2 separate regions of the Homo sapiens genome follow, and region 2 is linked to region 1. Evidence: promoter capture Hi-C in human tissues and cell types (Jung and others, 2019). All regions are on one chromosome and are shown on one strand. Each heading gives the region's core, a stretch centred on a gene start or on the middle of the fragment in contact. The rest is flanking DNA. Distances are from core to core; before and after follow the strand shown. Region 1 holds the start of AMOTL2 (angiomotin like 2). Region 2 has its middle 29 kb from the start of MIR4788.

Region 1 (5,018 bases), core at 1,478-3,977:
TCCACTAAGCAACCATTTGGGAAGTAAGGGGAACATTTCCTTCCCGGCTCCATGGGAGGAGGCTGCTAGGGTCCCACCAAGAACTCACTTTCATGTTCTGGTTGGGTGCAGTGGGATGCAGCTGCAGGGCCAGACTGAGGCCATAAAACAGGCACAGACCCAGACCGGGGCTAAGGAGAGGCGATGGTGTGGGTGCCTGGATCCCTTGCTAAGCCCTGTACACACCTATGATGCAGCCACACCCCAAGGAGCTACACTTCCTAGAGCAAAGGCCTCCAGCCTGGCTTACTCTGAGAATTAGGTCACCTCCGCATCTTTCCTGGATAGGATTCCTGACCCAGCCAGCCACATTGTCATCTGGGAAGAATCATAACCTGTAGGAGGAAGAGAGGAGGTAAAGGAGAATGGGACAAAGTAGATTGAGACAAAGGTGGAAGAAGAAAGCATTGGCTCACTAAGAGAGCCTCTCTCCCCTCTGCTGTAGGTGAAGATTCATATGCAAGCAGGCTGGCCGGCCCAGTGTCCCCTGTGCACATCTGCCTCTGGCACATCTGAACAGTGGTCACCTTCTCCACCAACTATCCTGCAGAGCTGGGGTGGCCGCCAGCTTAGGTAGGCTCCACCGCAGGCCATGCCTGACAGATCTTGCCTTCTGTTCTTTCTGCAGAGAGAAAGGGAAAGGAAAAATAAAAGTACATGCACATTTCTCATTTAGGTTTTGGGATCCCTCTCCCGCTTCTGTCCCTTTGGGGACAGAAATTAGCAATCATGGGGGCCTGTGTGGCTCTGCAGCAGGCTTGTCCACTCCAAGATGTACCTCCTTCACCCTAGCTGCCTTGAACTGACGCCTTTCTGCAACCATCTCAAGAATATTTGTCAAACATTTTGTCAGGTATCCTCCCAAATGCCTGAAAGACAGGACTGTACCATGTGGTCTTTCCCCTGGTTTTACAACCCGAGTGCACATGTCCACAACCACTCCCCTGCCTCCACCAATTATGCTGTCCATAAGGTAAGGCCACTCAGAGACCTCTTTCCTTTCACTTCTAAAATTCCTACCTACAGTGGTATACTGATCACAGCTTCTCTTCGTAAGGGGATCCTTGGAAAGACAAATATCCCGTAGCTTGGCACAAATGATCCATTTGCTCAATCATCTCAGATCCAATCACTGTTTGAAACACAGTATTTGACTTCCAAGTAAAACACACACGTGCGCACACACACACACACTTTTTGTGAGTTTTATTAAAAATTAACAATGTCCCTGGCAATTAAGCTTGCAGAATTTCCTTGTCCTTGTTTCCCTCCAGTGAATTTGGGACTTGCAAACTCCATGCTGATGGGAGGACCCAGCCAGGGGTAGAAATCAGCCCTGACTCTCTGGGTGGACAGGGGCCTGACTGCCCCCACCTCACCCCAACTGACTTGTAGAGAGGGCTTGTGTGATGGGGAACGGGGACAGCATGTGTCAGAGCGAGCTTTCTGAAGAAGGGGTTTCCATCTAGCAGTGGAAGTGTCCTGGGGGCAGAGGAGAGGATTCCATGCAGGAGCCACAGAAGTGGGTACAGGGGAAAGCCCCTGGCTGGCAGGGGTGTAGGGGGAGGTAAAGAAGAGACTAAAGCAAGGACAGGGTAAGTGGAGAGAGGAGGGCTCCCAGTGTCTGCCCTGTCCATCTAGGGAGCCTGGATTCTGATAGCCAGGGAGGGGTTTTGAGAATGAGAAACCAAGCAGCCCAGTGGTTGATTACCTGGTTCTCACTGTGTGTGACTCTGGGCACGCTGCTTAAGCTCTCTGAGCCCTGGTGTCCTCATTTACAACACAGGGATGATAACAGAACTCCGTTGGAGGGTGCTTGGCAGGGCTGAATCGGATGACTGGGCGAAAAGCCAGCGGTGGCACACCTTGCACTCTGCGTAAAGGGGCGCCTATTATCACCTTGGGGAAGAACTGGACAGAGCGCCTGGCGGCGGGTGATTCAGTTGGGTAGGTGGGTCAAATTGACCGGATTTTCCAACCCAGATTCACACTTCCTGTCGAGACGGTCGTAAAATAGCTGGCGAAGGTGTTTGTAAACAAAAGTGCATTCAAAGGTTGCCGCTGGGGGTGAAAACAGCGGGGGTTAGGGGAAAGAGGCTCTGTGGCTGGAAGCATTCACTTAGCCCGGGGCACTGTCCCAGCCCAGAGGATATGGATGTCTTTGCAGTCCCTCCTCCCTTTCCCACCTCCCCCGGTACACACACACGCACACACACACACACACACACACACAGCCGGAGTCCCCTCCCGCAGCAACCCCAGGACACGCGTGGTACAGCCCTTGCTGTCGTCCCGTCGATGGGTTTAGGGATGAAGGGTGAGAGCGGGTCGGCGACTGGGAGTGGAGGCGATAATGGGCAGAGTTGGATTAAATTGTCTCCAGCAGCTCCGAAGGCAAAGCATGGGGCAGGGGCGGACACACCGCGGCCTGGAGGGCGCTGGGCGCGGAGGAACGGAGCTCGGGGGCCGGGCCGGCGCTCGGCCAGCAGCGCCGCCTCCCCGGAGGAAGGCGGGGGCCGGGAGGAGGGAGCGGGAGAAGGCGGAGGGCGGAGGAGGGCGGTGCGCTGAGAGGTTATTTGTGGTTCGCTTTGATCCCGAGGGGGAACCTGAAACTCTCACATTCCTGGCATAGCAGCCGCCTCCGGCGCGGGCCGACCCTGGGGCTGCGCGCTGGGGCGCGAACAGCCAGAGCGTCGGCGCCACGGCCGAGAACACATCTTCGCCGCCGAGCTGAGCTGGGCCGAGCCGGAGGTTGTGGTGTCTGACTGCGCTGGGCACCCTCGGGCCGCAGCGGTAAGGAAGGCCGCTCGGCGCTCGGGAGAGCGCGCGAGGCCACAGAAACGTGCCCCAGCCAAAGCTGGAGTCTCGGCGCAACCCGGCCTTTTCCGGGAGTCGGAGCCTCGAGGATCGAGCGTCCTCGGGGCGCAGTGCGCCCTTTCGAGGCAGCCGCAGTGCCTGGCAAGGGCCGCTCTGCCCAGGGAGCGCAGCGCGCTGGGCTTTGCGGGGCTCTAGAAACGCGCGGGTCTCTTGGGGCTGGGGGAGAGGGGAGAGGGCCGACTCCGGAGACAACAGCCACAGTGTTTCGGGTTGCAGGTCGGCGGGGGTGGGGGTGGCGGGGGACAGGGATGGAGGCGCCGCTTGGAGCTCAAGTTGCAGGGTCCTGCGGGCTGATTTGGTTAGGTGGGGGTTACAGGTGCCTTTGCCCCCAACTAGTCCAAGAATTCCTCTTTGTCTTCCTTGGAAAATCCTCTCTGGAGCCACGAATTGGCCCTCACTTAGAAAGAATGCAGCCTGCTGTCCAGCCCGGTGACGTCAGCGTTAGAGTATTTGGAAAACAAAGAGGGCTCGAGAGGGAGGGAGGCGGACCCGCGATGCTTAAAGACCTCTCCGGGCCTCGGGCTACCCTCACCGGCTCGCCCCAGGCGTACCAGCGGCCACCGGTGCTCCAGGTCCGCCCGGGCTCGTGGTGGGGCGGGAGCCCTGGCTGGGGTGCCAGAACCTCCTAGCTTGGAGACTGTCTTTGGTTCCTTAGGCGAGCAGGAGCCCAGGCCAAGGCTGGAGACGCGCGCTGGCTTAGAAAGGCGGCCTTCAGAGAGCGCAGCGGGCGAGTGCAGCAGAGGTTCGCGGCCGGGGGCGCGGAAGCAGGTTTTTGTAAAGGCCCAGGCGTTTGATGTCTGAAAGGACGTGAATCTGAGGGGCTTGGCCGGGACAAATTCGCGATGAGAGGCCTTGGAGATGTTCCTTGCTCCCAGTCCGGGCACACTATGGAGCGCCTGGAATCTGTCAGGAAGGCTCCGCATTCCTTCCTGCCGCTCCCCTGCCTTCTCTGTGGGAGTCGGCCCAGAGAGTGATTATCATAGGAAATGCCCGCAGATAAAACTCCAGGGCGAACTGAATCCCATACGAATTGAATCCCATTTGCTTGCTTTGCCTCGGGTAGCTCTGGAGTCTTGCACATCTACCCCTCGTTGTGTGTGGGGGGCGCATGACTGGGTGCCAGGAAGGATGGGTACAGAGGTGCCCTCCAGACTCATCCCCCACTCCCCAGCTCTGGGCAGCTGGAGTACTGGGGTGGGGAGAGGGAAAAGATCGGGAATGGCTGCTCTGCCAACATGCCATAGCCCAAACTGAAGCAGGACACTAGGGCTAGTTTAGTGGCAGAGGAGGGGCCACATTCCTCCCACCCACCCCCCCAACCCCTGCCCATACACACAGGACCTGTGGCAGTGTGGATTCTGTTTAGTTTTCCCTGGATCCCAGTTTGGAGATTTGTGTTGGAAGAGGCTGTGGAAAGGAAGCTGGGTGAGAGAGGCAGGCAGATTTCCAGTCCATGAACCACTGGGAGCCCAGGCTTAGAAGGGAACTCCTTTCTCCGATATAATCTCCCAGCACTTTAGGCTCACAGTCCCCTCTCCCCTGCCCCAGGTCTCTCAACCAACAGCCTCCCCTTACTTCTCCAGTTGGCCCAAGTCAAGATGGGCTTCCTTGACACTGATGTCAAGAAAGATGCTGAGTGCCCATCCCTTATGTGCCTAGAGGACCAGTGGGGGCTTTTCCAAGTAGCGTGTGTGTGTGTTTGTGTGTGTGTGTGTGTGTGTGTGTGTTGGGGAGGATAATCATAAAATCAAAGACATCATGCCATCCTTCCTTTTTCCTGGAGCTCTCTTGCAGTTACTGTCAGCACAAAAGACTGACCCACTAACCTTAATGGGTGGCACCTTTTTGCCTCATCTTACAAAACCATTGTCCTCTTGAAGCATTTTTATTCATCCTTTATTCACCAATTCAGGTGCAATTACTCCTTCTTCCTGTTCACCTTGCAGAATGACTGCCAAGGTCATCCCATGACAGGGAGCCCCAGATTCATTCTGTCAGCAGCGCTTGATGAAGCAGAGCCCAAGCCCATCCTCCAGGAGTTCTCTGGTTCAGGGAGAGTGGGAAAAGTGGCCAGGGGTTCAGCGGGCTAGAGGGTGGTAGGT
Region 2 (5,018 bases), core at 1,171-3,670, 35 kb before region 1:
AAACTGGTTAATGTTCTATAAGGCAATAAATCTTAACCTTTAAGGTTATCTTTTCTACAAGTCAGAAATTATTTGAATATTTACTAGACAAAAATATACAGGTTAAAATGTAACCATTCTATGTGTAAGATCTTTAATCAATAATAAGGAATGGGTTGACTAAAGTACATTCACCCTAAATCACTAAATATCCTTTGGATGGCTCAGTGCCCCATATGACTTTGGAAAGACATGATAACCAAATGTCTGCCTTATTTTTAAGTTTTGGATAATTTTTTGACAATGCCTTATCAATTTTTCAATCTGATCCCTTTAGTTATGAGAATTGTATTAAAATTCTCTCTATATATCTGTGTTTTTATCACACTTAGTAGTCGTATCTTTTTTTATCTATTTAGCTGCTTGCTATGCTGTCTGTTGCACACCAGTTTATGTTTATTATGCTCTATTCATGTCACAATTTCCCTCCTTAATCTTTTTATGCTTTTAGCCTTAAATTCCAACTTGTCTGATTAATATTGCCGATTAATTGTCTATTACATTCTTTTGTCTAAAAAAAGTTATCAAAAAGATACCTCTTTATAGACACTCTTATTTTTAACCATTTTATCATCACATCGTGTTAGATATTTCTTGTAAACATTATAAGGCCTTAAAAAAACTGAAGTATTTAGTTCAGCCACATTTAAGGACGTAGTTAATTTACTGAATAATCTTCCTTCCATCCTACTTTATGTGTATTAAGACAGCCGCTTGTCATTATTCACAGCGGTTTTGTTTTACAGAGTCACTGAAAATGCTAAATAGTGAATGTTGAACCATTCCTCCTAGGAGAAATAGAGGGTTAGGTTTCTGTGACTCTCTGGGTTACATTTCATCAACCAATTAATGCGTAACTTTGTCGTGGGTGTGTTTCTGCTTAAAGACACCTTATTTAATATATATCATTGACTTGTTAACATTGAACTCACAGCCAACAGCACTGCAACATATGCCTGAACAAAGTTTGTCTAACATGTGTGTTTTCTCCACGTGGCTCATCACAGCCTCTTGCACACAGGAACACTAGACAGCACCTCAGCACTACACTTGGGGGCCATTTTTAAGGAGATGTGAAAGTCAAAATAAAACATAGCAATGAATCTTTAAATTCAGCGTTTTATTTAGGAAGCACAGAATTGCAATTCAGAGCATACGCACAGACTGGGATGGCCTTCAGTATGTCTGAAAAACAAACGGAAGTTTGGGGGTCTTACTAGAAAAAGCCATGATACCTACTGTTTTGAAAACAGCTCATTGCTAGAGAAGCTTTTGGGAACTGGCAAGCTCTGATGGGTGAGTGAAGGAGGCAGATAAAACAAATCTTTGAGTCAAGACAGGTTGTTTCAGCAGCTACTAGGTAAAACTCGTCTTAGAGTTACTACAGGCTATTTCAGCAACTGGACTTGCAGCAAATTCAACTATTAGAGCTGGTGCTATGTGCAATTATTAGTGCTTTTCCCCCCAGCCCCTCAACGCTGATGTATTAAGTTGGTGCAAAAGTAATTGCTGCTTTAGCCATTAAAAGTGATGGCAAAAACAGCAATTATTTTTGCACCAACCTAATAGTTGCATATGACAAGAGTGACTCAGTTTATATAATCAATTTTCACAGAAGTCACCAGCAAAAAACACACAAAGATGACACTAAGCAGTCTGAGAAAAGAACTGTCATTTACAGCATGAGAAGTGAAACAAGAAGGTGGAGCATTGCCTTGTTCAACCTCAGCTGGGAAAGTGCCTGTTGAGTGACTCAAATTTTTCGCTGCTCTTGTGTATGTCCACAAATGATCATGAGTGCTCTCCAAGTATTGATTTTTAGGGTTACAAATAAAATTTAGTGAGTAGGTGTATTCACAAATGCAGAATCCTAGAATAATAAGGATGGGCAGTAATTGTTTTCTTCCCTCTTTTTGCTTTTTCTTATTTTTGCTGGCTTCTATTTTTCCCCTTGTTAATTTGAAAATTCCATTCTACTTTTCCAGTTTATTCTCGGTTGGTTCATTTATTCTGGGGGAACACCTTTTCTTGAATATTTTCATGAAATAACATTAGCCTCAATATTTTTCTTTTTCCGTAACAAGTGAATCACTTGATCAGGTGTGGTCCTATAGAGTCTATTTCACTGGTCTCTAGTTTCTAGTACTGGAAGGGAAGTCTAACGCCAGTCTGATTCTTTTCTCTTTTTAGGTAAGTTAAAGTAATTATCTGGATGTTGTAACAGTTTTCTCTTTATCCTTAGAGTTTAGAAATAGGTCTAGGTCATTTCTTATCCATTCAGCCTGAAAATCAACAAGTTCTTTCAATCTCCCATCTTTAGTCTCACATCTTTCTTTGCCTCAGGACAATGGTGGTTTTAAAAATTATTGTTATGCTTATTATTTCTTTCATGTCTTCCTTTTTCTCCTTTGGAAGTCTTACCATTCATGCATGTTGGGTCATTAGATCTACCCTGCTAGACTGATCTTTTCCCTAATTTACATCTCTGTATCTTTGTTCTGTGCTTTAAGGTGCCCTTGAGTGCTGACCTTGATTTCCCATCCCAATCATCTCTCTCAATTGTAGTGACCGTTTTCTCTTTCAAGTCATCTGATGAGTTGTTTAGTTGGGAAATCACATTTTTTTTACAGCTTCGTAAAGTCTTTTTTTTTTCTCTATTTACATATCTACAGGGGCTTTTTAAAATTGTTTTTTAAATTCATGTTGTCATCTGTCTCTTTCAGCCACTGTGTCACTGGGTGTGTGTTTTGCTTGTCCCTTCTGACTGCCCTCTCTTTGCCAGCTCACTGGGTTCAGGTCTGAGGATGGGAACACCCTAAAGGACAGATGTTCTATTGAGGAAAAGGAGGGGAAAAGCTCCGTCCTATGTAGAGATGCGGGGATACTGCCCATCTCCTGTGCAGGCACCTGGAAAAGGCTTCTCTGACCTGGGCTCTGTAGGGTCTCCCAACCTCAGGAACTAGGGAACTTAGCCCCCTGGTTCAACAACTTCTTAGTTCTGGGATGGGGCGCAGGGGACCAGGTATCTTCATCTAGTGCAATGTTAACCTTCCATTGGTCTCTGGGGTCCAAGCTCTCTCCAGCACTCACTTCTCAGACTTTACTTTGAGACTCCTCAGTATTTGCAGATCTGATGGGGAAGAACTACCAGTTCTGTTCTTTCTACTGTTTCCGACAACCGTTTATCTTGAGAGGAACAGAAATTCATTTGGAAGTGGAAAGAAAGGAAACCATATTCCAGTTACCATGTCCCCAGAATCACCTCTAAAGTGACTTTTTAAAAATGAAATTTACGTATAAAATTGGATTTATGGAAAAGTATTAATAATATTACAGGTGGTACCTGATGTTACAGAACTCACAAAGGTGATGTTTGAATGACAAAGTCTGAAAACACTGCACCAGAAAAATGTGAAATTTCCCTTCCAACTCTGGTGTTCTATTACTCTTCACAGCAGAGTTACCAGAATCTTCTCCTAACAGGGTGTGACGCATCGCTTTAAAGAAAAAAAGGAGGAATGATAATCATGATTAAACTAGTTAAATGACTGGTTTTAATGACTTCTTCATGGTTATACAAGCCATACCTCTATATCATATGTATAGCATAGGCATGGAGAGACCTCAGAAGAGAGACAGATAATTTAAAAAAAACAAGGAGGCAGGAGTTACCATATAATGTTTTAGAAACAGTCCGGCTGAGCAATTGCAAGGACACAAAGCCATGGGGCTATTAGAGAAAGGCAGGACAGGAATTGCAGCCACGATAAGGGATTCCTTGCAGGAGGCAACCCCTCCATAAAGGCATCTGGGTGAGCGAGGGTCTGGAGCCCAATCTGCCTTTACTAGAGGGTATTACTCCCCAAATAAGAGCCCCGCATGTTTGTTTCCTTTGTTGTGTAGTATTTACACAACAATGTGTGGGTGAGGGGAGGAAGGTCACTGTGGCACTTCTTAAAGGCCCATCTAGCACACCTATTCTTCTCAAAGCCACAGACACACACAGACCTTCAACATTCACAGCCCTGGTCACTCGGGCTGCCATTGGCTCTTCAGCAACACACAGTCTGGCACTTTGTGCCGGGAGGTCTTGCCTCCATCTGCAGTGGACTCGCCCAGTTGCTCAATGTCTCCAGAAGATGCAGATGATTTCCCTAAGGGCCCAACACTACACTTAACTGAGGACTCCCAAGAATGCCTTCCTGGCCTCAGGAAAGCTTCAGGCCAGAGGGATGATCAGAAAGGGCTTGCTTTCAGGCCACCGGCCTTACCAGTTCTGACTCATTTCGTTTAAAATAAAACATCAAGCACAAAGAGGGGATACAGCCCATCACAGTAGTTGTAAAAGCCTGACAACCAGAGGGACGTGGTGAAGGTGAGCCCTCTCCATAGCAGCTCAGGGAGCCCACCGACTGCCCCCCACCCCACCCCTCCTGCCGAGTGGCAGGGCAGGGCTGCAGCTCTCGCTCCCAACTCCGACTCAGGACTCTAAGTGCCTGCCCCGCTTGGGTCTCCCAGACCCGGGTGGCTTATGATATTGAGCTCATCAGTCAACACCAGACGCCACTTCTTTCTAAAGTCTGCTGTGTACCCGATCGCACACTCGGTTTTGGCCCCCGACACGGGCCCAGGGCCCTTGGGGGCTCCGCGCGCAACGGAATGGGCCAGCTTCAGCCTGCGCAGCACAATGGTCCGCCCTCCCCGGCTGGCGCGTGGCCCAGCCCGGGGGGTTTCAGTCGCTTCGGAGAATTCACTTATTGTTTGCAGGGCTCGGCGGCCGCCGCCTGCAGCCGGCGGGCTGCAAATCTATTCACCCTGCAGCCTGGCGTCCGGCGCTGCCGCGGCGCGTCTCCCCCGCGCACCTGCCCGGCGCCCCCTCCCTTCCTGCCCGCCATCTGTCGTCTGAGAGCCATTGTAAGCAGCCGCGCCTGGCGTCCTGGACGACACCCAAGGGGACCCGGGGCTTAGGCCTGGCGAGA

Evidence for each region. The method cuts DNA at HindIII sites, captures the fragments that hold promoters and counts their contacts. A contact is called where the count stands out against the background at its distance.
Region 2: a contact is called between a fragment that was not itself captured here and the fragment with the promoter of AMOTL2 in region 1, in 3 of the 25 tissues and cell types used here (hippocampus, neural progenitor cells and psoas muscle).

Annotation. Positions count from the first base shown.
Region 1 is chr3:134,372,156-134,377,173 of GRCh38, reverse strand. It overlaps AMOTL2 (angiomotin like 2), which reads left to right and starts at 2,727. Exons shown (of 10, transcript NM_016201.4): 1 at 2,727-2,832. RefSeq lists enhancers at 1,070-1,867, 1,868-2,667, 2,668-3,467. The HindIII fragment of the contact is 13,073 bases long and covers 1-5,018 here.
Region 2 is chr3:134,406,643-134,411,660 of GRCh38, reverse strand. No RefSeq gene overlaps it. Among named protein-coding and RNA genes, the nearest start is that of MIR4788, 29 kb to the left of the region's middle. RefSeq lists an enhancer at 3,714-4,419. The HindIII fragment of the contact is 5,326 bases long and covers 1-5,018 here.